2 separate regions of the Homo sapiens genome follow, and region 2 is linked to region 1. The links are contacts of gene promoters, found by promoter capture Hi-C in blood cells and fetal thymus (Javierre and others, 2016). All regions are on one chromosome and are shown on one strand. The core of a region is centred on a gene start or on the middle of the fragment in contact, and the rest is flanking DNA. Distances in the headings are between cores, read along the strand shown. Region 1 holds the start of SIRT2 (sirtuin 2). Region 2 overlaps CATSPERG (catsper channel auxiliary subunit gamma).

Region 1 (2,968 bases), core at 265-2,764:
CAGTCCCAGGACAAATGTGGTTCAGAAGGGATGGCAGGCAGTGGCAAGGAAGAAGGAAAGTTTGGGAGGACAGGCCTGGACTTGAGGCTGGAAACTCTTCTCTGACAATCCCCAGAATCTGCCTTTCCCCAGAAAGCTGCACTGGGTGGTGTGAGGGATTGGGGCAATGAGCCGAGGGCCCTGGGGTGACTGTTTCCCCTTTGCCACCTCCCCCCAGTGTGGGATGTGGAACAAGTCCGTCTCTCTCCTCCCCTCCACCCTTTCCCCCATCTCACCTGAGCCTCCTGCACCTTCCCTGCCTGGGTCTCCAGAGGGTGAGAGGCTGGGGGAGGGGAGCAGAGGTGGTTACAGTGGGGAGAACGATTAAGGGGGGAATAAAGGGGTTCAAATGGTCAGTGAGGGGGCAAGAACACCCACCAACCTAGTTACACTGGGATGGGATGGTGGTAAAAATGGAGCAGAGGGAGGGAGGGGACGGAGAAAAGATCTTATCTACATGCAAAGTGATGCCGGGAGAGGTGATTAGTGAGGGGCAGAGAGGCTGGAGAGGAAGATTTAGGGGGACAGGGAGAAAGTAGGGGCTTTTGCCCAGGCTGGTCTTGAACTCCTGGGCTCAAGCGATCCAACCACCTTGGCCTCCCAAAGTACTGGGATTACAAGCATGAGCCATTGTTTCTGGCCCTGACTTACTTTCTTTCTTTTTTACTTTTTAGAGAAAGGGTCTCGCTCATGTCACCCAGGTTGGAGTGCAATAGTGCGATCATAGCTCACTGCAGCCTCAAATTCCTGGGCTCAAGCGATCCTCCTCCTCCTACCTAGGGGATTCAGGGCATGAAGGAACACTCAGGAGGAGTTAGGAAGGACACGACAGTGTGTGAGTGTGTGTGCGGGGAGGGTTAGATTTACAAGGCAGAGGGAAGTTTAGAAAGGAAAAGAGAAGGGAAGAGACGCTTTGGCTGGGAGGCAGGTTTAGGAGGGAGGTGCAGTGGTGCAGTGGAGGCGGTAGGTTTAGGAGAGGCGCGGAACAAGGGGAAGCCATAGGAGGGGTCAGCAGGGGTCCCTCAGCATCCTCTGGTTGCCTCTAACAATCAGGTACCCATAGCAAGCGGGACCGGGGCAACTTATGTTCTTTGCAGCGAGGGACCTTAGCAACCAAGGTGCGAGAAACACGCGATCATTGGCAACTTGGCAAGTGGATGTGGTAAACGAACCCTGAACACACTGCGACCCAGAAACCCACCAGCCTAGCGATACAGATCGCTAAGCAACAGCCCTCAGAATCCCACTCCCCGAAGCGCTCCCTACTTCCCGCCCCACCGCGGCCACCCTTGGGCCCCGGGGCCTGCAGCATTCAGCCAGGCCCCGGCGCGGCCCGACCCTCCTACCCGGATCCCCGACTCACGGTCTGGCTCTGCCATGGGCGCGGTGCTGAAGCCCTTGAGGCTGTCACCGACCGCTCTGTCCCGTCACCAACCACTGTGTCCCGTCACCGACTGCTCTGTCCTGTCACCGACTGCTCTGTCCCGTGACGGCACCAGAAATGGGAGTGGCCGTGATAGGGCACAGAACTACAACTCTCAGCAGACATTGCGGCCGCAGACGCGCTTTCGTACAACACCCAGAGCGCCCCAGTTAGGTAAGAAAGCGCGCGAGGACCGGACTACGAGTCCCAGAAGGCGTGGCGTCAGCAGCCATGTTGGTAAAGGGCGCCCGGAAAATGTGGGAACGGCTAGAGAGTTGTAGTCCTCCCGAATACTCTGATTGGTCAGGATGCAGTACGAGGGCGGGGTGTGAGCGATTCAGCATATTATCATTGGGTGAATCAGGGGGCGTGGTGGGGAATTTCCCGCAGGGCGGAAGCTCCAGAACTCCCGGCAAAGCCCAGCTACAGGCGGGCGACTGCGGGGGGCCCCTGAGGCGGCGGGGGCCATGGCTGGGGTCGCGTGCTTGGGAAAAGCTGCCGACGCAGATGAATGGTGCGACAGCGGCCTGGGCTCCCTGGGTCCGGACGCAGCGGCCCCCGGAGGACCTGGGTTGGGCGCGGAGTTGGGCCCGGGGCTGTCGTGGGCTCCCCTCGTCTTCGGCTACGTCACTGAGGATGGGGACACGTGAGTGAACCTTAGGCTGCCAAACGGAGCCCTAGGACCCGGCGTCACATTCCTCATTAATCTCTGATCCCTGAGGCTTCCTAACCTCATACTCCTAAATCTGACTTCCGATGCTGAACTTCCTGACCTCTAACCCCCGAGTCCTAACTTTTAACAAAACCAATCTTCTATCTAGCTATGATCCTAACCCAATCATTTCTTACCTTCTTTTCTTGAACTATGATTCTCAGCTCCTGGAATCCACATTGTATCCACTGATACCCAAACCTGACTCCAGTCCTGAGACTTCTGTTAGAACTGTGGCTTCTCCTGACTTCTAACCTCCAAATATGATCTTTGATTCTTAGTTCCCGATTTGAGCCCTAGAGTTTGATTTCCGAAATTAATACTTGGTCCCTGACTCTAAGATCCTGTCTTCTGAGCAGTGTTCTTCAAATCTTAAATTCAAAGAGAGAGAATGTAAGCTCTTCTATGTTGAATTCCTAATTAAAGTAAAAAAATAGGAAAATTAAAAAAAAGAATGTTAGCTCCATGAGACCAAGGATTCATCTGTTAAACAAATATTCTTTACACATTACCACGTTCCAGGCTCCGTTTAGGTGCTAGTGATAAAGGCAGTGAAGAAAACAAACAAAAACTTAAGCCCTTGTGGAGCATACATTTTAGTGGAGCTAAATAAACAGATTGATAAGACCACAAGGAAGGAAAGAAATGGAAAGACAGGAAGAAACAAAGAAAGACACGCAGAAAGAAAGAAACATAGAAAGTAAGAAAAGGAAATAAAGTCAGAGGTAGTTAAGTACTTTGGAGAAAAATAAAGCAGGAAAATGAGGCAATAGATAAACAAGATAAGAGCATTT
Region 2 (2,968 bases), core at 313-2,812, 560 kb before region 1:
GAGGTTACAGTGAGCTGTGATGGCACCACTGCACTCCGGACTGGGCAACAGAGCAAGACCTTATCTTAAAAAAAAAAAAAAAAAGCCAGGTGCAGTGGCTTACACCTGTAATCCTAGCATTTTAGGAGGCTAAGGCTGGAGGATTGCTTGAGGCCAAGAGTTCAAGACCAACCTGGCCAACATAGCAAGACCCTGTCCCATGTAAAAAATAAATAAATAAATAAATAAATAAATAAATTACAGAAATAGCCAGCCTGGGCAACAGAGTAGACTCTGTCTCTACAAAAATTAAACAGTTTTCAAAGAAAGAATGGCCTGGTGGCTCATGCCTGTAATCCCAGCACTTTGGGAGGCCGAAGCGCGCAGATCAGTTGAGGTCAGGAGTTTGAGACCAGGCTGGCCAACGTGGTGAAACCTCATCTTTACTAAAAATACAAAAATTAGCTGGGCATGGTGGTGCACGTGTGTAGTCCCAGCTACTCAGGAGGCTGAGGCAGGAGAATCACTTGAACCCAGGAGACAGAGGCTGCAGTGAGTCGAGATCATGCCACTGCACTGTAGCCTGGGCGACAGAGTGAGACTCCTTCTTGAAAAAAAAAAAAAAAAGGAAAAGAAAGGAGCCTGGCAAAGAAAGTAAAGAAAGTCAGCCCTCTCGATGAAGGGCTGTGCACAGGTGCTGAATCTGGTAAATCCCTCGCCCTGGTCCCACAGCAACCAAGGCCTCCCCTTGGTGGCCTGAGTGCCGCCTTCTCTCGGGGACGCCTCTTAGCCTTCACTGGTGCTGTTCTGCATGCCTGAAACATCCTTCTCCTCTTCTCCCATCTCCACTCTAAGCGCTCCCCACCCTTTTCTATTCAGCCAGGATCCCGCATCCCTGGGAGGTTGTCCAGGCATGCCCTGTCACCCTCGTCCTCAGTCCCTTCCTGTGTAATCGCCCCATCCTACACTCACCCCAAGCTCAAGGCCCAGAACTTGGCTGTCCTCTGACTTGCATAGGTGGCAGAAAGTCTGCTGCAGAGAGGGTGGAAGCCCACCTCAAGAGTGAGACTGGGGGCCAGATGAGATGGCTCACGCCTTTAATGCCAGCACTTTGGGAGGCCAAGGTGGGAGGCTCACTTGAGACCAGGAGTTCAAGACCAGCCTGGGCAATCTAATTTTTTTTTTTTAAGCCTGGAACTGGGAATCCCTGGAGTGGAAAGCAGCACCCTGGGTGCCACATCCCTCCCACCTTCCCAGCATCCCTCCCACCTGCACAGTTTTGTTCATCCCATGCTGCCCTTCCCTATGTATTCCCTACATGCACATTCTGTCTGCAGACACTGGCTCTGGAGTCATCTCCTCCAGGAAGGCCTCCGACTCCCTCCACAGCCCCTTACCCCTCTGCCCCCTCCTAGGCTGTTCCATCCCCCATCCAAGCCCCAAACCTAGACCATGTCCTCTGACCATCACATGGTGGACAGTGTGCTGCCCCCGGACAGCCCAGGAGACAGACTGTTAGAGGCGGGCTTAAGGCAGGGGGCACCCAGAGGCTACCATAAGGACACACTTGTGGGGCCATCTCACCCTCAGCCCTCTGAGGACCTGGTGCGCATGGGCCACCTGACGGGGCTAAAGCCCCTGGTGCTGGTCACCTTCCAGTCCCCAGTCAACTTCTACCGCTGGAAGATAGAGCAGCTGCAGATCCAGATGGAGGCTGCCCCCTTCCGCAGCAAAGGTGGGCCTGGGGGAGGCGGGAGGGATCGCAACCTGGCAGGGGTGTGGGGTTTGCTGGGGGCCTCTGTGGGGCCATGATCTGAGGAGGGTATGTGGGGGGCGGGAGCTCAGCACATTCCATGGCCTAGAGGGGCCACACAGAGGCCCCAGTGGGACCCATGGCGTGGAGGCAGGTATGGGGAGTTGTGGGGAGATCCCAGGGTGGTCTGGGGCCTGGAACCGGCCATTGGGAGGCCCCAGCAGTTTCAGTGCCCAGGGCCTCCCTGCAGAGCCATGCATGGCAGAAGAAGTGTGTAGCATGAGCTGGTACACGCCCATGCCCATCAAGAAAGGCAGTGTGGTCATGCGTGTGGACATCAGCAGCAATGGCCTGGGGACCTTCATTCCAGATAAAAGGTACCCTTTCCCAAGACGGGGGCTGGGGTGGACTCCGGGGGAATTCCTCACCCCAGGGTCCCCAGAGGAGCCAGTGGGAGATCCAAGGGAGAGAATGGGGAGAGGAGAGGCAGCTACGAGCTGTGGAACCCCTGACACTGGGACCTCACCTGCGCCTATTCTGCACCTGCTGCTAGGTTCCAGATGAATATCAACGGCTTCCTGAAGAGAGACCGGGACAATAACATCCAATTCACTGTGGGAGAGGAGGTGAGGGAATATGGCAGGGGAAAAAGACAATGGTCTGGGCCTTAGGCTGACGCCCTGGTTACTTCCCAGACAAGCAGCAGATCCCATTTAGGGAGCACCAACTTCATGCCAGGCCCCACATGAAGATCCCATTAATCTCCCCAGTGACCTGTCGAGGGGACGTACTCTCACATACTCCATTATAAAGAGGAGAAAACTGAGGTCCCAAAGGGATGGAACCATTTTCCCATAGTCCCTCAGCATGGAGGGAGTCTTGAAGTTATCTGTCTGACTCCTATACACACCTGTACATCCATACCTGTACATACATATATAGTACATACCTGTACATACATATATAGTACATACCTGTACATACATATATAGTACATACCTGTACATACATATATAGTACATACCTGTACATACATATATAGTACATACCTGTACATACATATATAGTACATACCTGTACATACATATATATGTATATACCTGTACATGAACAGACACACACACACACACACACACACACATATATATATATATATATATTTTTTTTTTTTTTTTTTTTTTTGAGACGGGGCCTCGCTCTGTCATCCAGGCTGGAGTGCAGTGGTGCAATCATGGC

The links. The method cuts DNA at HindIII sites, captures the fragments that hold promoters and counts their contacts. A CHiCAGO score of 5 or more calls a contact.
Region 2: a contact is called between a fragment that was not itself captured here and the fragment with the promoter of SIRT2 in region 1, in 1 of 17 cell types (non-activated CD4 T cells). The highest score is 5.4, in non-activated CD4 T cells.

What each region holds. Positions count from the first base shown.
Region 1 is chr19:38,898,104-38,901,071 of GRCh38, forward strand. It overlaps SIRT2 (sirtuin 2), which reads right to left and starts at 1,515. Exons shown (of 16, transcript NM_012237.4): 1 at 1,403-1,515; 2 at 276-322. The coding sequence starts at 1,418. It overlaps NFKBIB (NFKB inhibitor beta), which reads left to right and starts at 1,866. Exons shown (of 6, transcript NM_002503.5): 1 at 1,866-2,108. The coding sequence starts at 1,930. The HindIII fragment of the contact is 23,515 bases long and covers 1-2,968 here.
Region 2 is chr19:38,342,011-38,344,978 of GRCh38, forward strand. CATSPERG (catsper channel auxiliary subunit gamma) reads left to right here. Exons shown (of 29, transcript NM_021185.5): 4 at 1,570-1,714; 5 at 1,983-2,109; 6 at 2,286-2,358. Among named protein-coding and RNA genes, the nearest start is that of CATSPERG, 7.7 kb to the left of the region's middle. RefSeq lists an enhancer at 1,335-2,284. The HindIII fragment of the contact is 5,142 bases long and covers 1-2,968 here.